Regions from separate parts of the Homo sapiens genome. Here regions 1, 2, 3, 4, 6 and 7 are each linked to region 5. The links are contacts of gene promoters, found by promoter capture Hi-C in blood cells and fetal thymus (Javierre and others, 2016). All regions are on one chromosome and are shown on one strand. Each heading gives the region's core, a stretch centred on a gene start or on the middle of the fragment in contact. The rest is flanking DNA. Distances are from core to core; before and after follow the strand shown.

The links. The method cuts DNA at HindIII sites, captures the fragments that hold promoters and counts their contacts. A CHiCAGO score of 5 or more calls a contact.
Region 1: a fragment that was not itself captured here is called in contact with the fragment with the promoter of MRPL50 in region 5 in 3 of 17 cell types (naive CD8 T cells, total B cells and total CD4 T cells); the score reaches 9.4 in naive CD8 T cells.
Region 2: a contact is called between a fragment that was not itself captured here and the fragment with the promoter of MRPL50 in region 5, in 1 of 17 cell types (activated CD4 T cells). The highest score is 6.3, in activated CD4 T cells.
Region 3: a contact is called between a fragment that was not itself captured here and the fragment with the promoter of MRPL50 in region 5, in 3 of 17 cell types (total CD4 T cells, total CD8 T cells and naive B cells). The highest score is 9.0, in total CD4 T cells.
Region 4: a fragment that was not itself captured here is called in contact with the fragment with the promoter of MRPL50 in region 5 in 1 of 17 cell types (total B cells); the score reaches 8.1 in total B cells.
Region 6: a fragment that was not itself captured here is called in contact with the fragment with the promoter of MRPL50 in region 5 in 1 of 17 cell types (total B cells); the score reaches 6.9 in total B cells.
Region 7: a fragment that was not itself captured here is called in contact with the fragment with the promoter of MRPL50 in region 5 in 1 of 17 cell types (activated CD4 T cells); the score reaches 6.3 in activated CD4 T cells.

The regions. Positions count from the first base shown.
Region 1 is chr9:105,686,502-105,689,736 of GRCh38, reverse strand. No RefSeq gene overlaps it. Among named protein-coding and RNA genes, the nearest start is that of TMEM38B, 6.4 kb to the left of the region's middle. The HindIII fragment of the contact is 8,166 bases long and covers 1-3,235 here.
Region 2 is chr9:105,452,808-105,456,045 of GRCh38, reverse strand. The region is part of intron 1 of FSD1L (fibronectin type III and SPRY domain containing 1 like); the gene reads right to left. Among named protein-coding and RNA genes, the nearest start is that of FSD1L, 6.4 kb to the right of the region's middle. The HindIII fragment of the contact is 5,463 bases long and covers 1-3,238 here.
Region 3 is chr9:105,707,316-105,710,341 of GRCh38, reverse strand. The region is part of intron 2 of TMEM38B (transmembrane protein 38B); the gene reads right to left. LOC107987107 (a long non-coding RNA gene) reads left to right here. Exons shown (of 4, transcript XR_001746868.2): 2 at 2,150-2,297; 3 at 2,941-3,015. It also overlaps the pseudogene LOC100421293. Among named protein-coding and RNA genes, the nearest start is that of TMEM38B, 14 kb to the right of the region's middle. The HindIII fragment of the contact is 7,200 bases long and covers 1-3,026 here.
Region 4 is chr9:97,412,912-97,415,925 of GRCh38, reverse strand. All of the region lies in intron 1 of TDRD7 (tudor domain containing 7), which reads right to left. Among named protein-coding and RNA genes, the nearest start is that of TDRD7, 2.3 kb to the right of the region's middle. RefSeq lists enhancers at 2,984-3,014, 2,848-3,014. The HindIII fragment of the contact is 157 bases long and covers 1,576-1,732 here.
Region 5 is chr9:101,396,936-101,399,897 of GRCh38, reverse strand. MRPL50 (mitochondrial ribosomal protein L50) reads left to right here and starts at 1,280. Exons shown (of 2, transcript NM_019051.3): 1 at 1,280-1,397. The coding sequence starts at 1,306. ZNF189 (zinc finger protein 189) reads right to left here and starts at 1,047. Exons shown (of 3, transcript NM_003452.4): 1 at 709-1,047; 2 at 1-14. The coding sequence starts at 741. RefSeq lists enhancers at 1,047-1,576, 1,109-1,637, 1,638-2,167. The HindIII fragment of the contact is 1,128 bases long and covers 278-1,405 here.
Region 6 is chr9:96,852,715-96,855,589 of GRCh38, reverse strand. ZNF782 (zinc finger protein 782) reads left to right here and starts at 1,076. Exons shown (of 6, transcript NM_001001662.3): 1 at 1,076-1,502; 2 at 2,521-2,737. RefSeq lists silencers at 1,304-1,373, 1,654-1,743. The HindIII fragment of the contact is 2,179 bases long and covers 463-2,641 here.
Region 7 is chr9:105,552,186-105,555,115 of GRCh38, reverse strand. It overlaps FKTN-AS1 (FKTN antisense RNA 1), which reads left to right. Exons shown (of 3, transcript NR_184141.1): 3 at 773-1,081. It overlaps FSD1L (fibronectin type III and SPRY domain containing 1 like), which reads right to left. Exons shown (of 14, transcript NM_001145313.3): 14 at 2,683-2,930. Among named protein-coding and RNA genes, the nearest start is that of FKTN, 4.5 kb to the left of the region's middle. The HindIII fragment of the contact is 2,328 bases long and covers 242-2,569 here.

The DNA of each region.
Region 1 (3,235 bases), core at 225-2,724, 4.3 Mb before region 5:
TGGGTGTGCACTTCTCTCAGTCACTGATGATACTCAGTGCCAACATCTCTTAGCCTCTGGGTCCCCCTATTGAATATTGCCAGGAGAAAGACCCTGTCCTGGCCTGGGACAGCTGTACACTCCTGGTTAATCAGTTCTGATGGGAGGCCGGGTCACGTGGTTCAGATCTGATGCATCCCTACATATCAGAGGCAATTTCCTGAAAAAGGAAGGAGCGGCTGGGTGCAGTGGTTCACACCTGTACTCCCAGGACTTTGAGAGGCCAAGGCAGGAGGATCGCTTGAGCCCAGGAGTTTGAGACCACCCTGAGCAACATAGTGAGACACTGTCTCAAAAAAAATAAAGAGAAAGGAGGGAGCTAGGCAGACATCCCAAGAGATGTCTAGTATAATCATTTTCTTTAACCTGTTTATTTTATTTTATTTATTTTTTAATTTATTTATTTTTCTTTTTTTGAGGGTGAGTCTTGCTCTGTTGCCCAGGCTGAAGTGCAGTGGCGCGATCTCAGCTCACTGTAACCTCTGCCTCCCAGGTTCAAGCGATTCCATCCTCCTGAGCAGCTGGGATTACAGGCACCTGCCATCACGCCCGGCTAATTTTTGTATTTTTAGTAGAGATGGGGTTTCACCATGTTGTCCAGGCTGGTCTCCAACTCCTGACCTCAAGTGATCTGCCTGCCTCAGCCTCCCAAAGCACTAGGATTACAGGCGTGAGCCACAGCGCTCGGCCAACCCATTTATTTTAAAGTAGGAAACTAAGTGCTAGAGAGGTCACCATGGGCAGTGACAGACCAAAATTTGTTACTATTCTGTTACAATCAGTCTTCCCTATGTACTCCTACTAGGTTTTCTCCTGTCTAACAGAACCCAAATACTTCTTTTGAAGTTTTCCTTTACAGAGAGATTCAGCATCCCTACAGCAATGAAAAGGCCACCCACCAGATAAGGGCCAGGAAGACCAATTAGTAATCATTAGTAACCCCATCCCATTCTTTGACATTATCTCAGCAGATCCCATTGCTTTGTTGTCATTTAAGATTTCTTTTTCTTTTTCTTTTTCTTTTTTTTAAGACAGAGTATCGCTCTATTGCCCTGGCTGGAGTACAGTGGTAGGATCTTGGCTCACTGCAACCTCCACCTCCCAGGTTCAAGTGATTCTCTTGCCTCAGCCTCCCAAATAGCTGGTATTATAGGTGCCTGCTGCCATTCCCAGCTAACTTAAGATATTTTTTAAATAAAATAAAAAGTCCAGTCCAGTTAAAACATCCATCTTACATGCAATATAGAACTTCTTTCCTCCCATTTGCTCAGGACTGCCTGTCTCAGAGACTTTGATGGGGCAATGGGCATGGTGGAGTCCTCCAGCCTTTCTTCATCTTCTGCTCCTTTCATCTGCTATGTCTTCTAGGGTTAGGGCAGTGAGGAGGGAAATTAGAGAAAAGGAACAGAAGACTTTCTAGTTGGCAAATGTTGGTCATAGTTTTTGTTTTTTGGTTTCTTTGTCTTGGTTTGCTTTTGGCTATTGATATTCTTCTCTATGGCAGGCTGTCAATGCAGACTCATTCATGGGGTTTATTTGTGGGTTCCCCAATGATGCCATGGAGCTCACACAGCAAGATCTCCTAACCTCTACAGTTAAGGCAGACACCACTGGTTGAATAACCCAGCACACATATTCAACTCTGTGTATCCGGTTAAAACATTAGATATAGTTTGTTCAGCCTCTCAGCAAGGTGTGAACTTGTGTTAGGATACTGGCAAATAAAACTTCAGGGGACCTAGGTTGACATGCTTCTGAAAACAAAGTAAGGAAAAACAAAGTTGAAGGACTGACACTGTCCAGCCTCAAGATTTACTATAAAGCTACGGTGATAATCAAGACGTACGATATTGGTGAAAAAATAGAAAAATAGATCAATGAAAATATGTGGCTTCTCTGATAAAAGGGACTATGCCCTTGACATTGGCCCTTCTCCTTGTCTTTCTGCCTAGAGCTAGGGCAGCCATGTTGTGACCATGAGAGAAAATAGCAGATCATTGAAGTTATCAACTGTCCTTCTCAGACTTCCTGTTACGTGAAAAAATAATTTCTTATCTGCTTAAATAGAGTCTGAATTGGCTTGGGGGAAGTTAGCACCTCTTTCTTCACAGGGAGAGGAGTAGGAAGGCAAAGCCTCTAGCCCTCTGAATTCCCTTCCATGAATTTCCCTTCAAATTCTTGACCTCTTGGATTGTTGAAAGTGAAGTTCACTAGGCCAGCTGTTATATTTTATTAAGTCCTGCATAGACAGGGCTTAATTGTCTTTTCAGAATGTAGAAGTAGCATCTTTTGTCTTAGGGGATCTAATGGAATTTCACGATAAATTAGCATCTTGTTATACTAGATGACAGGCAAAGGAAGGAGATTAGAAAATGGGGTGGATGACGCCAGGTGTGGTAGTTGATACTTACAATCCCAGCACTTTGGGAGGCCAAGGTGGGAGGATTTCTTGAGGCTAGAAGTTTGAGACCAGCCTGGGCAACATAGTGAGACCCCATCTCTACAAAATGTTTAAAAAATAGCCAGGAGTGGTGAGGTGCACCTGGTCCCAGCTACTCGGGAGGCTTAGGTGGAAGGATCACTTGAGCCCAGGAGTTTGAGGCTACAGTAAGATATGATCGTACCACAGCACACCAGCCTGGGCAGCAGAGCAAGACCCTGTCACAAAAAAGAATAAGATGGATGGGTGAGGTTTGAAAGAAAATGCACATGGCTGTGGCTGGGAACCCACAAAGTGTCGGTTATCTGTATAGATGGGTTGATCAAACCGAAACACTAGCAGTGAGAACACATGTACTTGATATATGGGCAAATAAAAAGAATCGTACCTAGGGATTTATAAATGTGTCCAAATACCAGAGCATGCATGGTCAGGAGGGTCCGTAGACACAGAGAGGGAAAATGCAGTTGCAGGTGGATTAACAATCACCAAGCGAAATTATTCCAACGTAAGCTGTTTCCATGCGACAATTGACAATAAATACAGACTTCCTTGGTTGAGTCCAAACTTGTCTAGCTTTCATACAGAATGGGTCTACATCACATATATTTTCAGGACTATTGTTAAAGATAATGGTCAATTAGTGGAATCGTATATGTATGGATAGAATGTATAGTCCAAGGAATGTTTCAATCACTGTATGTGCCTTAAATAACTATAAATAATGTAAGATATAAAATCTGTAAAATGTAAAAA
Region 2 (3,238 bases), core at 642-3,141, 4.1 Mb before region 5:
AGGGCATCAGCATCCATGTGGTCATAATTAGAGAAATGCTGACATATGGGTTTCCCACCAGCATCTTCTCAGAGGAGGAGAAGACTTCTGAGTCAAATTCTACAGTAGTATTCCAAAAAATCAAGATACAAAAATCTAGAGCCCCTGCAAATACCACAAATAGATCTATAATTTAAGGGGGTCAAACTATTATTATAGCCAATTTAGTTAGTATTTCATTAAGCACCTTCTATGTGCCAGGCACTGTGCTGCTAATATGGAGTAACTTTTTAATCATCAAATCTGATAAAAAAGTAGTATGAGTCTTCACATTTTATGGTTGGAAAAAGGAAAGATTCAAGATGTTAAGAAACTTGTTTTAGGTCACACAGCTATCAACTGGCAGTCATGATTCAAATTCAGGAGGTTGTCCCCAGAACCTCTGCTTTTCAAATCCAGGAGGTTGCCTCCAGAGCCTGTACCCTAGGCTGCCTAAACTGTTGGGGATTGTATGAAATAATCATAGGGTTCCTGCAACCAGAGGAAAGGGATTGATCAAATCAGCATGTAACATTCCTGGAAAATGCCCAATAATGCCACCAGAAATGATGCCACTTGCATCATCCCACACATAGACCTGTCCTTTGAATTAGGTGACTTCATGCTGAACCCCTCCATCGACTCCAGTGGGGATGGCACCAGGTTCAAGAGGCTGAAGAAACCCAGAGCCACCAAATGAGGCATGGTATTTTATTAAGGGATTACATACAAGGGAGAGAGTCCAGTGGTGGCAGGCTGAGCAGGAGAACTGCCTTATATACAGAAAAGGTCCAGTGGCAGTGGGCTGGACAAGGTAACTACACAGCCCAGTGAAGCTCAGAAGACACATTCAGGTGAGTCTGCCATACAGGATCATTCTAATAGTATGCTTAAACTACTGCTGTTAGGTAGGTTTACCATACAGTGATAAAGAGCGGAATCAAGAAAGCGCTATCCAGCTGTTAGCTAGATAATCAGAATCTCACCAGTTATTTTAACAAAAGTATCATGCTCAGATGTGATGCAAGAAGGTGAAAAAAAGAGAACTGGGAAATTCAGGAATCTAATCATAATATACCTAAATGATGGAAGGCTACACCCTCTCTAACAGTGAAACAGTTGAGAACACTACCTGTACACAGATGTAACTGAGACAGCCTACAATCAATTCTGATTGTCTAGCTTACCAGCTGAGAAAAAGTCTAAATGCTAGTAAAAGAACTGGCTGGGGAATGCTGCCTTTCTGCCCTGAACCCAGTTTAAGATATCACAGCATATGAGGAGGTAATCTCCCATCTAGGATTTGAGGAAAATAAAGCACACCAGAGGATAAAGAAGCCTTAACCATGTGCAGTGGCCTTTGAACTGGCTGTTTTACCCAGTAAAGTCAAGGAGGCTCATAGTCGGCCAAAGAAACCAGAGGTCCTACCATTTAATGAAAGAAGGTGGCATTGGAGTGGAGATGCGAGTATTAGTATAAACTAACAACCCTTCTCAAGGGCAACTTGACAATATGTATCAAATAAAATTTTTGAAATAGATATACATTGACTCAGTAATTCCATTTCTAATTTATTGTAAGTGAATAATTAAGGGTGTAAGCAGAGACTTGGCTACAAGGATGCTTATCTGTGATATTTATAACATTAAAAGGTTGGGATCAACAAAAAGATACAACAAAAGGGTACTGTAAAACATGCATACAAAAGAATTCTGTTGAATCATTAAAAGTATTGTAGAATGATTAATATGGAAAAATATCCATAATTTATTATGTGAAATGCAAATTATAGAGCAGCATATATAGCATGATACCATAATTTTAGAAAAGTTTTTATATGCATACCAAAAAACTAGATGGTGACATAAATGTTGAAGAGGTTATCTCTGGGTGGCAGAATTGAGTGGTTTTTATTTTATTTTCACTTTATTTATATTCTTATTTTCCTACAATAAACTTGTATTACCTATATTTATAATGCAATAGAAATGCAAAAGCTGGCTACGTTAATACTTTTTTAATAAATTAGTTCAAAATTCAATTAACAGCAATCAACAAGCATCAATAACTGAAACCAGATTCTATCAGAACCTTGTGGCTGGGAAGAAGTGCCAACAAAGAGTGAAAAACATATTTTTAAAAGTCTGGAGATAAAATCCACCAACTTTAAAATATTTTCCACCCTAAGAGTAGAATATCTAGCACTACAGCAAACATTCAATATGTGTTTACTGTATAAATAATCCTGCTTACATTCAGCCACGCATTGCAAACAAGCACTATGTTAAAATTTTTTTAAAAAAAGGTCTGCTTCACTATCTTTCTAATTTTTAAAAACTGCCAAGTTCAATTGAAAAATGAATGTATCTGTATTATATATAGTGGTCATAAGTATGTCAATATGGTATTCATTTCTACTTTCTTGCTCACAGTTCTACTATAGAAAGCTAAGACATTCCCTCAAAAGAGTTGAAAAAAGGGGAAAGATACATGCAGACAGACATGCACACACACGCACACACACACACACACAAAATAAAAATAGTAATTTTAGGCCAGGCGCAGTGTCTCCTGCCTGTAATCTCAGCACTTTGGGAGGATCATCTGAGGTCAGGCAGGAGTTCAAGACTACCCTGGCCAACATGGCAAAACCCCATCTCCACTAAAAATTTAAAAAATTAGCTGAGTGTGGTGGCGGGCGCCTATAATCCCAGCTACGAGGGAGGCGAAGACACAAGAATCTCTTCAACCCAGGAAGCAGAGGTTGCAGTGAGCCAAGATCATACCGCTGCACTCTAGCCTGGGTGGCAGAGCAAGACTCTGTCTCAAAAAAAATTAAAATTAAAATTAAAATAGTGATTTTTATTTGGGGCAACAAGAGAGACCAAATTCCAGGTTTTTACCTAAATCATGTTCTTTATCATCTATCAACTATTTTCACTACACTTAACTAGCTTAACAAAAAAAAAAAAAAAAAAAAAACAACTTTAGGTCAGACGTGATGGCTCATACCTATAATCCCAGCACTTTAGGAGGCCAAGGCGGGTCAATCGTTTGAGCCCAAGAGTTCAAGGCTAGCCTGGACAACATGGCAAAACCCTGTCTCTACAAAAAACACAAAAATTAGCCAAGTATATGGTGGCATGCACCTGTAGTCCCAGCTGCTCAGGAGGCTGAGCTGGGAGGATAGCTTGAGCACAGAAAGCAGAGGTTGCCATG
Region 3 (3,026 bases), core at 322-2,821, 4.3 Mb before region 5:
TAGACTGGCTGGAAGACCACAGAGTAGCAGAAGCCATTCCGACAATGACAGACCAAACTGTAGCTGGAATATCCAGTACAGTTGTGCTTACTAGACTTCAAGAAAGATCTGAAAGTGGAAAAAGAACCAAAGAAGGGCAGTTCAAGTGACAAAGGGGTGTGTGGAAGGTGCTGCAGTATGAATACTGTACAAATATTTTGACTCTGGTCTGAAAAGATAAAAGAATGTTATCGAAAACTACATGGAATAATTGAAGTCCCCTCAAGTTTGAAAGTAAGCATTTTAGGACAAATAAAAGGACATTCAACTTTGTACTTGCGGAAACTAATCCCTAAATATGAATAAGCGTATATTGATTCATGGGTAATAGGTCCATAATAAATTATTGGAAACTAGGATGTCTGAATATCAAGGAAGACAGCCGTAGTCTCTTACAGTGCCTCTGTTGGTCTGCCTCAAACTGATTTAGGTGGGAAAAGTTATGGTCCAATATAAAAGTTCCATTTTCGCCATTATTGGCAAATCTTGCCTTTGTTTATTTTGGTGTCAGTGTTTTCTGCTTAATCATTGGCTTTGTTGGCATCTGCGTTTATTTACTTGTACACCACATGCAGTTTACATCTTCCTTAACTACTCTCCTTCCCAGGTAAATTCCAATTATATTCGACATCCAGCTAAGAGGGCCCATCTCTTCTCACCTCTATCCTAGTCAGTATGTTCAGCAAATATTTATTGAGTGCTGACACTGTGGGCAAAACATTGTACTGGTTAATTGAGGAGAAAAGTAGATAATTCCCTTATTCAGTAAATGTCTACTGGGTACAATCTAGTGAATGATTACAGTATGGCCTAATTGTCTTGTTTGAGATGTATTATTCGTTACAATATTTTACACCATTCATATCTTAATATAATTATAGAACCCAATATACTATCAAAGATAAGTAATTGTGTGGTTATATGCCATTTAAAATTATCCCGTGTTTGTCTGATCCCATTATTACAAATAATTAAAAAATGATTTGTTTTAATCTGTAATAAACTGATTTATTGTGCAGTGACTGTAATATACTGGAGTTATATTAAATTGTTTACTCAGCCTCACCAAACACATACTAGGAAATAACCCCCAAAATAAGTATTTAACTTTGCATTAGATATAAACGAGACTGGGTGCTATAATTAGATTATTTTAAGGTAGACAGCTATTATCCCAACTGATGTAGTATGTTCTGTAATTGAGAAAATGTTCACCAAATTTTACTTTTTAGTGATTTACATGTACATTTTATAGGGGACATGTTCTATGTATAGTGAATAAATAACTTTGACAGTAAAAAAAAAAAAAATAGCCAACGTGGGAAACATAGTGAGACCTCATCTCAACAAATATAAAAATTTTAAACATTAGCCAGGGGCCAGGCATGATGGCTCACTCTCTGATGGGCTATTATTCCAGTATAGTTAGAGCAACATAAAAAAAAAAATCAACAGATAACATGTTGGATAGCAATAATTCTAAGAAGAAAAATAAAGAAGGATGATGTGATAGTCATGGGAGAGGAGGTGCTACTTTAGTCAGGGAAGGCCTCTCTGATAAAACAAAATATGAGACTTCTGAGGAAAAAAAGATTACAAAGAGAAGAAAGAAAGTACAAAGGCATTGAGGTAGAAGAATACCTTACGTTGGAACATTCAAGAAATAGCAAAGCTCATGTGACTAGAGCAAACTGAGCAAGAATAGAGTTGTAAGACGTTACATAAAAGAAAGTGAAAGCGAGTATTTTGCAGGGTTTTACAGGCCATGGTAAAAGTTTGGGATATTGTTCTTAATAAGATAAGAAATTACTGAGCACATGAGTGACATGTTCTAACTTAAGTTGTCCCTCAGTATCTGTAGGGGACTGGTTTCAGGATTCTCCTTCAAAATCTGTGAATGTGAGAGCCCCTATATAAAATAGCAGAGGATTTGTACATAACCTACACACATCCTCCACTACACTTTAAATCATCTCTAGATTATTTATAATACCTAATACAGTGTAAATACTATACAAATAGTTGTTACACATTATTGTTATTTGCATTATTTTTATTGTTGCATTGTTATTTTTTATTGGATTTTTTTCCAAATATTTTTGATCTGCAGCTGGTTGAATTCAAGCATGCAAAACCCATGGGTATAGAAGGCCAACTGTAATAATTTTGTCTGCTCCATGAAGAATAACGAATAGACTCAAAGGGATAATCAAAGAAGCAGCAAGACCACTTAGGAAGCTCCTGCAATCATCCAGGAGGTTAGTATTATAGGAACAGAAGTAGAAATAACAGAAAGTATCAAATTCTGGATATCTTCCTTTTTGTATAGTTTCAGCATCTATACACATCAAAAAATTCTTCCAAAATGCTAATAACTTTTAAAAATATTGTTATAGAAATAAAAGTCTTTGGGAAAGTTTTTTAAAACACATAGCAACTGGAAGACTACACTTTAAGAGATGGTTAAACAAATCTGTGAGAGATAGTGGCTACAAAGTGTGAAGACTCTAAAGTTAAAAACTTCTTGTTTTGATTCTAGCTCAACCACTTACTAGACAAGAAAGTTATAGCAGCATTTCCCTATGCCTCAATTTTATCATTTGTCAAATGGAAATAATAATAGCTACCTTATAGTACTCCTCTGATTAAATATAACAATGAATATAAAGAACTTAACTGACATATCGTAACAACTCAACATTGCCATAGGTTCCCAGGATTACTTTTTCCCATTGCTACTATTATTTGTAATATCCCTTTTAGAACTGGTTACATATTCATTTTAAAATTATCACAATAAAAATGAACTGTAAGTGTTCCTGTTATATATTTAATGATATGGTTCTTAACAGAAAACAGTTTCTGCTTTATACATTAAAAAAACTATAATTTTTATTATAGATTATTTTAAACTTGATGGATCAATCCTCTTAAGGATAACGAATTTGGATTTGCAAGAATTCAAGGCAATTCCGGGTAACATTTTT
Region 4 (3,014 bases), core at 405-2,904, 4.0 Mb after region 5:
GTTACGTGGCTCATGATGACTTTTTTTTGAAACTTTCGGAAGATGGCAATTATACTCTCAAGGTATATAAGAATACTTTGTTCTAACTATAAAAATAAAGTTTAATATCTTAGACATCATCCATTAGAAGCATAAAAGAAAGTATATCATAGGAATTTCAACTGGAGTGCAGTGGCGCAATCTTGGCTCACTGCAACCTCCGCCTGCCGGGTTCAAGTGATTCTCCCGCCTCAGCCTCCTGAGTAGCTGAGACTATCTTTTTTATGCTTTCGTGCTTTCCTTTTTTTCTTCGCTTATACCCAGTTAATCTTAATTATCCAAGACACTAATAATGCACATGAGGTGGGGTGGGGAGTTGGGGAGTGATGACAATCTTTAGGGAAACAAAATTTAAATAATTTAAGTGGCCTAAAATAATTCTCACTCTACTTCAAAACTGCATTTTGTAAATTCACAGCTTTTCTCTTTACTATACCTGAAAATGGCCCAAGGAAGTCCTATTCTGAAGAACCTGGTTTTGGTGTATCCCAGATAAACGCCTTCTACCATTGATTGATCCTCCCTGGCTCAGTCATTTGCATGTTATCTGCTTCCTCTAACTACTGGTGTCAAAGGCCTTTAGCTGAGCTAGTCTGGCTTCCATCCTATGCCTTCTCTTTTCTAAGTTTCTTCTTGCTCAACTATTTCCAACTGTATGATTTGGCTCATCTTCCTTACTACATTTTTCATGTCATCAGTTTAAGTTGTCGAGTGGCACTAAATCTTAAAACAAATCAGAAGAATTATTAGGGTAAACTGAAAACACCAAGTAATCTCTCTTAGCTTCTTTTAGTTAGATGTTCAATTTTGAAGTATCTGGATATCTCTTTAGGGCATATACTTCTAATAACTAACTGCCCTTCTCCTTGAAGACACTATTTTAGCAACAGCGGGAACTTAAAGTCCCATAATGTCTGTGCTGACACATTTTAGGCATCGTCTAGGCTAACCCAAGCTCCTTATCTTACAAATCAATAAACTGAGCCTCAGAGGGAAAATTTTTTCCTAAGATCTTTACCCAATAAATGATTTCTCACCTTGCGACACTTTTAAATGCTCTTTTCTTTCTAATCATAGTCTGTTACCACTTCAATTACTCCTTCACCAACCGGTTTTTAAAGGAAAAAGATGATTAATACCCTCAGATGATGGTATACTTCCTTAAGAGTTTTTTTCAGGGAGTTATCTTTTTTATTCTTGTGATCTCAAGTTCCAAATTATTCGTGCATTTTAACTGCATACCACGAATGTACGTAAGTAAGGGATTTCCATAAGTCTACATACTAGACGAAAAAACCCTGAGATAATAAAGTGGCTTAGTAAGGAGTTTGTGTCTTAATCCTAGTTCCGCTACTGATTACCTGTGACAAGTCACTTCAGGTCTCTTTTTTTCACAAGGAAGATAAGAAAGGTGGGCAAGAGCCATGATTCTCAACTTTCCTTGGATTCACTGAAGGCTGAAATAAGGTCCAAATATGTAATGAAAACCGAGTTTGCTTACTCATGACAAAGCTGCACAGGCTAAAATGCCAAGCTTACTTTGAAGTCACACTGGGTAGCTTGCACTGATCAAGTTCTGATTGGCATATATACATGTCTTCAACTAAAAATTGCAAAATTAATTACTTTTAGTTTGAAAGACAAAACTGTAAACATATTTGGCTTACAGGGAAATAATGACAAGAATGAAGCTTTCAAAAGTACAGAGGTGGGAGTGGAGGGAGGAAAAAGCAGGTTTGGCACAAAGAAACAACAGTTCACGTAAATATAAAATTTCACCAAGGAACTTCTGTGAAAGTGTCCAGATGCAAAGCACTCTATGTCAAATCTCAATTCTTGAAAACAGCACTTGACAAACACAAATTAGGCACTCGGGGTTGGATTATATTTTTTCTTTATATTCACATTAAGTATCCAGCTAGATTATATTGCACAGAGAACTTAAAAGAGGGGTTCTGCAAGGAGTTTAAAATCTCTTGATGCACAATACAATAGTTCATTCAGCCATGTTCAACCTGTACACTTAAAAGGGCATTAGCAGGGGATTACACTTCATTTTCAATCTACAGAGACTGAAATCTGAAGGCACTGCCAACTGCTGCCTCACAGTCTCACCGTGCAACTACCAAAGACGGAGGCTGTGTGCCACCAAAGGGCCCTGGATTGGGGCACAGGAGATGTGAGTGCTAATCCAGCTGGCCCCAGGGGCAATTCCCTATACCCAGAACAGTACTTTGCACGTAACTGATGCTCAATGAATGTCAGCTGAGAGGAAATGCAAAAATATCCACCATGTGCCCATTTATATTATATAGTAAACACAAAGATCTTTGTGTCCCTGCCCTCAAAAAACTAAAATCCAATTATGTAAAACATGGACCGTTTGTTGGGAGGAAGAGAGTGAATACTGCTTGGCAATTATTATGAGGCAAAGGATATACAGTGGTTATCTTGGAAAAGCCTTGCAAAGTAAGCCAGGTACCTCTATTTGACACATAGAAAACCAGGCTAAGAGAAAGCATGTAATTTGTTCAAGATCACACAATTTGTAAAATGAGAAGCCCAGATTTCAATCCAGGTCTGCAAAGTTCACATTATTTGCAGTATGCAACACATTCATACACATCAAGGCAGCCCAGGACGAGACAGGGATTTGGGTCCAAGTTTTACTTCTGCTATTAAGCTGTTGCCTATCTCTCTAGAGAGAACATTTCTCTGCATTTTTTTCACCGGCACGATTGGAGAGCAGAGAGGTGTTGGTAGGAGGGTTAATGAACTAGATCTGTGGTTTTTTGGTTTGGTTTGGTTTGGATGGGCGGTGATCAGAATTCTTCTGGGCCAGGACTTGTTCTAATGTGGTTGTTTCCCTTCCCTGCTCTTAGAAATTATTTGAGAATGGTACCTTTAGCTATTAATGGAAATATACCTCTCAAGTGAATGGGAGCAGAAAGATATGCCGGCTCCAAGCTCCCTCC
Region 5 (2,962 bases), core at 31-2,530:
AATGTCAGCAACCCCTGAAATAGTATGATTTCTGTAGTCAGTTCCTGTTGTCTCAAGGACAATTCTACCACTAAAAGTGACAGAGGCAATCACTTATTGTGGCCAAGTAGGCTAGGAGGAACATGATAACTGAAAGTTCCATATGTTGCCCAATTCTGGGAACGAACTGTAACTGACAGACATCTCAGACTAGAAAGGACCTACGGATAAGGCTTTTCTGATTTATTATGCCCTGAGAGTTTAATTTTAGTAAACTGCCCCAAGGCCTCTCCAAGCTTCCCTCACCTCATTGCCTACTTCAATTTTCCATTTGCACTGGCTTGTGACTCTATTCAATTCAATTCCTTGAGGTTCTCTAAGCGTGTACCTTGGGGTCCAGGCACTGTGCCAGGAACAGAAGACACAAGGGAAGGTCAAAAATGGTGCTTCACCTGGAGAACTCACAAATGAGAGAGCTAGTCTGGAGCATTACTTATTTTCTCAGGCCGATTTATCAAGTCTCTCTAGAAAAAGAAAAAAAAAAAGGGAGCCAGTGGGCAGTTTGTTCGCGAACCGCACCCCAATGCACTAGTGGGGAGTTCCTTGCAAGGCGCTGGCCCTAAAGAGGCGGTCAGGAGGTTGGTGGGGGGCCTGGGGGAGAAAGCAGTGGTGCGGCCTAGCTGGGGTAGCGGCGAGACAACCGGGATCCCCGGGGGGGTGCTTACTTACCTTCGACTCCGGCGGGGGGCTCGGGGAAGCCATCTCCCAGGCAGAGAATAGGGGCAGGAATTGGGGGCGGCCTCACGGAAAGGAGCCTCTGGTGAGGCCTACCCGGCTGCTGGAAATTAGGCTCGACGAATACGAGGATCCCTGGCTGGGTCTGGCCAGTGCCTGCCTCGGCCCCCAGACGGTCACGACCCCAACAGCATATCAGACGCGATCCCTGGCTGTCCCCCAACCCCGAACCCCAACCCCTACTCCTGCCTGGTTACGCAGCCTTTCAGGCCTCGCTAGAGCCTCCTCCCCGCTGCCAGTTCCTCCTCCTTGCAGCCAAGTAACGCTATGACCGCCCGCCCCCGGACCAGAAGGCGTCACCCAGATTCTTCCCGAGGCCCCCTCAACTACAACTCCCGTCATGCTCGGAAAGAGCGCCGCGGTCCAGACGCCGCCAGCAACAGCTACTGGACTACATTTCCCAGCGTGCAAAGGGCGAGGGAGCCTACAGGAAAAAGAAAGCTCTTGCCACTGGGATTGTATCCGATTGGCTGGTCTGGGCGCGTCACTGCTGGCTGAAGGCTGCGCTCAGGCCCGTGGATCTCATCGAAGATGGCGGCGCGATCTGTGTCGGGCATTACCAGAAGAGTCTTCATGTGGACAGTCTCAGGGACACCATGTAGAGAATTTTGGTCTCGATTCAGGTAAAGCTTTATGGTGGACGGTGGGTCATGTTCAAGGAAAGTTAAGGAGGATTAGGGACGAATTCAAAATAGAGTGTTACGCCATCGTGGTCCCGCGCCTGATCAGAGCAAGGACAAGGAGGTCCGGTTAGGGTCCCGAGTTGAGAAGCACTCATTGAGTGGTGGGACCCAGTCTCTTCCACTCTCGGCCTTAGTTTTCTCATTTTATAACGGAAATACCACCCCCTTTCCTTTTCACTTCACTCATTCATTTATTTATTAAGCAAGCAGGATTAACCTCGTGTGCGAGACACCGAGTGTGTTGTCTGCAAACACATGAAAGCGCTTGGTAAACTAAACTCATTTGCCGGCTGTGTTTCTTCACAAGCAAGGTTCAGTAATGAAGTACTGCCTCCTCCTTTTGTTTGTTCATTCATTCAGTCATTCAACAGATTTCTTAGGGCCAGCATTACTCTAAGCGCCTAGGATACAGCAGGAAAAACAAAATCCATTCTCATCCTCGAGGTACTCCAACATATGAGGAAACAGGCCCACAGGAGGGAAGTGATTTTCCCAAAGTCACAAAGCAAGTTAATTGCAAAGCTGGATCTAGAACATATGTCTCCTAACTCCCCATCTACTGCTTTTTCTGCTGCACGGCTGCACCATGTGTAATTGTTTGAAGGTAAATCTAATTTGACTTAGATAGTGTTTAGGAAATCAAAACGTATGGTAGGAACCCTAGGGAGCAATGTATGCTCTCTTAGGTTTAAAACAAAAACCACTACAATTAGGAAAGATCTTTTTCATCAGTTCAGATATTAGCTTTCCCTCTTCTTTGGTCAATATTTGTTATTATCTCTCAAATCTCTTCCAAGTTTGTTTTATTCATTCACTCAACAAATATTTTTTAGGCTGTTTACTATATGCCAGGCTATATCTTAGGTGTTGTAAGAATACAGTGGTTACTAAAACAGACCAAATTTTTGTTCTCGTAGGGCATATGTTCTAATGGAGGAAGAAATGAACAAATGTGTAATGTAATTTCAGAAAGTGGTAAATTATGAAGAAAACTAGAGGAAATAGATTACTGAGAATGATGATTATATTTTCTTTACTATTTTAAAAATTTTATATATTTAAGATATACAACTTGATGTTGATTATTAGTCAAGATAATTATCATATTCATCTCTTCACATACTTTCTGTTTTGTTTTGTTTTAGAGAAAGGAGTTCTCACTATGTTGCACAGGCTGGTCTTGAACTCCTGGACTCAAGTAATTTTCCCACCTTGGCCTCCCAAATTGCTGGGATTCCAGGGGTGAGCCACCACACCTGGCCAGTTAGAATTTTTGTGTGTGTGGTGAAAACACTTAAGATTTACTCTCAGAAGATTTCAAGTATACAGTACAGTATTATTAATGATCGTCACCATGGTGTACATTAGATCTCTGGAACTTATTCATTCTACATAATTTAAATTTTACCTTTGTCCAACGTCTCTTCATTTCCGCCACCCCTGGTAGCCACCATCCTACTCTCTGTTTCTATGAATTTGACTTTTTTTTTGTTTGTGTTGGAGAT
Region 6 (2,875 bases), core at 303-2,802, 4.5 Mb after region 5:
GAATTAATGGCATTTGCAGCGACCTGAATGAGATTGGAGACTATTATTCTAAGTGAAGTAACTCAGGAGTGGAAAAACCAAACATCGTAGTTCTCACTCATAAGTGGGAGCTAAGCTATGAGAATGCAAAGGCATAAGAATAACACAATGGGCTTTGGGGACTTGGCGGGGAATGGCGGAGGGCAGCGGGGCAAGGGATAAAAGACTACAAATGGGGTGCAGTGTATACTGCTCAGGTGATGGGTGCACCAAAATCTCACAAATCGCCACTAAAGAACTTACTCATGTAACCAAACACCATCTGTTCCCCAATAACCTACGGAAATAAAAAACAATCAGCAAAAAGCAAGAAAATTCGTTAATGCGCATGGAAACCTAAGATAATTAACATTAAATTTAAATATGTTGAATCAATAAGAGAATTCGGCAAGAAGCAATGTTAAGGGATAAAAACCAAAAGCTTTTCTCTAACACCTGCAGCACCGGGCTCGACCCGCCTTAGAACCCTCACGCCTGGGGGCGCCAGGACAGGGCTCACAGGTCAATGGGTCGGGTAGGCTGTAAAGAGACAAGGTGGAGGTTCCAGGTTGAAAATGTATAAAATTGTAAAGTAAATTCAAAGTTATATCATTTCAATGCTAAATACTTCAGTAGTGATCCCTTTTTTTAAAAAAAAAATTTCTACAAAATTCTTAATTTTTTTTCACAGTTCACAAAAGTAATGGTACTTTTTTTCAATATTTGCAATTCCCAATCCATATTCAGCTTCCCAATTGTCTCCGAAAGTCTTACGGAAAAAAAAAATGTTGGTTCAACCGGGAACCAATGGAGGGCTACTCTTTGTATTTGTCAGTAGCGTTTAAGTTTTAACCTTTAACTTCTCCCTGTTCTTGGAGAGCCTGAGCGGGAGACTTCATAAAAACTCCATCCCCGCCAATTCTGAATCGCCGAAACGTGAGGAGTCACGTCGAAGGCGGACGCAAGAGCTTATGGGAAATGTAGTCCTGAATGAGTCTGGTTCGCCGCGCAGCACTCTGGGATGGGGCTCCTGGGCTCCTTCTGCGCCTGTGCAGCCAGAGCCCCGCCTCCTCATTTGGGTTCTCGAGACTCCCGGGAAGCGGTTTGGGAAGCTCGGGGGTCGGCTCGGAAAGTAGAGGGGGCGCAGCTGGGGCGGGAGGACAGCGTTTGTGCCCGGAAGCGGGAGAGGAAGCGGGAAGTTTGTGGGATCCCCGCCCCCTGTGTCAGTGGATGCGACCGGGCGGGCCCTCGGCCTTCCCGGCCGCTGGAGAGGGACTTCGGCCGCTGGCTCCCGGGGCGGCTGAGGCTGAGCGTTGGTCCGGAGCAGGTGCCGGGTGCGGGCCGCGGTGTGCGGGACCGGAGCCCGGCGCGAGCGGCGGCGGGGGTGGGGAAAGCGCATTTGTAACGCGGGCGACAACGTGCCCGAAATCCCCGGACGGTGGGTCTGCATCGAGACCCCGAGCTCTGGAGCTGGAAAAACCCGGGTAAGTTCCATCTCTGTCAACTGGAAGCCGAGGCGAATGTAGGGACGTGGATGAGAGTCAGGTTTCTCATCTGAAAGTGAGGGTATTAATAATGACTGCTTCATGGCGTTGGTTTAAAACTTTAAGTCACCACCTGTAAAGCAAACAGCCGACTGTAGGCTACTAAGCCATGAGCGGACTGCTGCTGTTATATTTAGAAGACACTTTGTTCCATTCGTTGGGTGCCTATGTATACCTCACAACCACATCTGCATTAAATATAACTGAGGCTCAGGTCACAAGCTAGCAGTGAGGGAGCTGGGGTTCAAAGGCAGGTGTGATTTATTTCCCGTTTCAGGCGCTAATATCACACCTGCCTAAAACCAGCATTGCAGCCTTCACAGCACTTAGCAGAATGTCATGTCCCCAAATACTCAGGGAGTGGATGTAGATGGAATCTTACCATGTGTCAAATGTAGTCTGGATTTCTGGTGTGTCTTCAGATCTCTTGGGTCAGACAGGTTCCTGGCCCCTTCTGCATTGTCAGGGTGTCTCTCTTTTAAGTCTGATGTAAAGAATTCTAAGAGTCAGATTTTTGCCACTAACATGGTTTCTCAGGTCAGGTCGCAGGCTCCTTGAACAGAGCAGCCCTTGCGAGGTGGGAAGCAGGGGTCTCTGTGAACAGTTTTACCTGGAAGAGAACACCTCTCAGACCTAGGCCTCCCTCCCGAGCTTCAGAGCAGAGGCAGAAGAGCCCACAGAGGAGCAGATCCTAGATGTGTATGGTCAGAAGCAGTTCTTGATCCTCCTTCCCAGAATGAGCCAGACTTGGTGAAGCCTCCAGAAGCCACCACACAATGGGTGACAGTGGGTGGTTTGGGCCAGCTTTGAGAAGAGCAAAATGGGCTAGGTGGTGGCCAGGGACAGGCTGCTCAGGAAAGGCCACATCATTGCATAGGTCTGAGGGTAGGGGTAACCGGAGATTCTGTCCCCAGATCCCAAAGTAGCCCCCAGTCGCTTTGTTCTCCACTCTTTACAGATGCCATACTGCTGTTAACATATGTGACACTGGAGACTTTGTCCCTACCTCATAGAATCCCATGCATGATGATACATGAAGGGTTTTCCGTGGCTATCTACTTCTGATTCTTTTGAAAGCTTTAAAGACATTGGGCATGAAAGGTTCAGTGAGTTTCCGGGGATCCCTCGTTTGTGGTAGAGCCAGGAGGAAAACAGTTCCGTTCATTCTTTCACAGGTGAGTCACCAAAAGCATCTTATCCAAAGGGCCTTTTGAGAAATACATCCCAGTTAAAACATCTAAAACTCTTTGCCTTAAAGTATCTCATCTCTTTTATAAGACTTTCTGTGGATTGTCTATACCAAGGGTAAATAA
Region 7 (2,930 bases), core at 156-2,655, 4.2 Mb before region 5:
GTGTACTAGAAAGTGATACTAGGTTGGCCTGCCCTTCCCTGATCCCCTGGGTCTCTTTTTACTTCTAGCTTAAGCCTGCCACAGGGGCCTATCATGCATGCATGTGGACAACTCAGTCTGCACATCCAAGCTTCATCTGTACTTCCCACAAACTGCCAGCCATAGGGGTATATACATCTGTAGTAGTCTTTTTTCAGGATGGATTTGGACAAAAGGCCTGCACATATCCTGGAAGCAAGCTTCAGGCTGATGAGGCAAGGAATCCTGGGGTTCTGGCTGATAACATAGTATAGAATTCTGTGGGTAAAGGAACATGGATTCCAAGTAGGCATAGTCCCTTGGCTCCTCAATTTTTCATCCCATGAAGAGAGGCACAGCAAGAGTGTGGGGATCCGGTTAGTTAGCTTACCTTAGGTAGGTAACAAGAGAAGGGTCCTGGAGAGCCCCTGGCTCATGAGTCAGTGCCTTATCCCCAGATAATATAAAAAGCAGCCTGGGAAAAAAGCTGCAGGCACCAATAAGGGAACTAGCACAGGGTGTTGTGCCTGGAGACATGCCCATGACTGCACAGATGGAAAAACCTACGGCCCATTTGGATAAAAACTTGCACAAACCTCCAGCTCACTCAGATAAGGGAACAAGGCCTGGCATAGAAATGCCTTGGTCCTTTGTATTGTCAGCAGGTTCCCAGGAAAAGTTTATTCCCCTTTTGTAGGCATGGGCACAGTGGGCTCTGGTAAGTTCCTATGGGCGCTCTACTTTCCTTTGTTAGGACTGTAAGTCCAGCTGCTGTGTATCATCACCTCAGCCCGATTGGTCCTCGGCCACACTTCACTTCAGCTTCTGATAGGTCCTGGGCCAAGCTAAGCAGCATCTATGAATCATTTCACCTCCTGACTGGTCCCGGGCCAAGCCGAGTCACGCATTCGCCAAGACAGCCCCCAGACTAAGCACATTCCTTCCCCTTCCGTCCATAAAAACCTGGACCCCAGCCTCATGATGGGCACTCCCGTTCGGGACCCCCTCTCTGCTGGCAGAGAGCTTTCTTCTTTCACCTTATTAAACTTTCACTCTAACCTCACCTTTGTGTCCGTGCTCCATAATCGTCTTGGAGGTGGGACAAGAACTCCAGGTGTTATCTCAGACAACGAAAGACTGTTTCAATAATGTAGTATATAAGTGGACAAGAACTCCAGGTGTTATCTCAGACAACGAAAGACTGTTTCAATAATATAGTATATAAGTGGGTAATGAAACATGCATTCCAAGTAGGCATAATCCCTTGGCTCCTCAATTTTTCATCCCATGAAGAGAAGCACAGCAAGACTGTGTGGTGATCAGGTCAGGGTCCCCTCTTACCCAAGTATACATGCATGCACACACCCGTTGTATCGTACTGTATATATTGCTGGATGACTTTTTTGTTTAATATCATGAATACACTTCCATTAACAGCATATCCTTTAACAGCTGTGTAGGATCACATGGAAATACCAAAATCTAACCATCTGCTCTTGTGCTGACCTTGTGCAAAAATAAATAAATACAAATACACCATGCAGTGTAAGTGTAAAATGGGGTTTAGTAGAAAAGTAGAGTGCACATAATATCCTGAGCTCTTATGCCACAGAACTCCCAGCCAGGCACAAATGAACTGGTATACCAAGGAAAAGGCTCTAATTAAGCCAATTGTCATAATGGTCTATATAACATTTATTGGGGAGGGGAATGTGCAGAATATATAATATCTAGACCACTACTTATATGGTAGTTTGCTGGTGCAGCAAGTTAGAAAAGGGGAGCCTTCAAAATTCTGTTATCACATTCTTTTGTTGAGGCAACTTGGGCCTTTTGAACCAGTTCTGTGCCTTGCTACCAAAAAAGGAAAAGGAATTTACCTCCAAGTCCATCCAAATTTGTAGGTCTTCAATTAATAATTAGGTTGCTACTATTAGCTATGGTAATGCTGCAAGGAACATTGGCTTTTTTGTGAGTATATATGTAAGAGAAATACTTATAAAGGAAATTAAGGAGCATGTGCATTTAAAAATCTTAATATTGCTAAAATTGTTCTCCAGAAATGCTGCACCCATTCACTCTCCATCTTCTATAGTGGTTTATCAATCTTTGTCCATTCTTCTTCCTGTGACTCAAGACTATCCAGTCTCCTTTCATTCTTCTTACATAACTTCTTAGTTACAGGCGCTCCAGTCTCACTGATTTTTTTTCTTTTAAACTGTTTTCAAGTTAGAGCAAGAATTTTAAAAATGTTTAGGTTCTGATTCTGACTCTTAGTTACCATCTACCAAAATGTAACCCAACATGTAGCAAGATCCAAAGAAACCAAATTCATAAGTAATATTATAGTTACTAACATAGCATGTTTCATTTTCCATCTGTAGGTACACTGTTCAAAACAGTGGCTATTAGCAATATGCAACTCTATGTAGCCACATATAAAGTGCTCAGTAGCTGCCTATGGCCAGTCACTACTGTATTGGACTGCACAAATAACTTTTCATAATTGCATAAAATTCTGTTGAACAGTAGTGCTCTAAAATGTTAAGCTTTTTAGGCAAAGGAACTATGACTTTTTTTATATTCTCATCCCCAACAGCATATTGTATTTATACTTAAATAAAAGTTAATAAAATCAAACAATGAAGCAAAAGAGAGCAGGAAAAGAGTTTTTAAATTTTTAATGAGATATTCCAGGTGCTTCTGTAAAATCTTAACTGGGACATTCTATATAGAACACAAAATCATTTCAAAATACACGTTACTCCACTTTGAATACCCTATTTTAAAGTGAAAAAAAAACATTTTAAAAAGGCTTTGTCTTGTTTCTAAGGAAAATGAGGCCATGTGCTTCTTAAAACACTATTGTATGGCACTGAGTGCATCATAAGTATCATTAAAGGTCTTCAGCC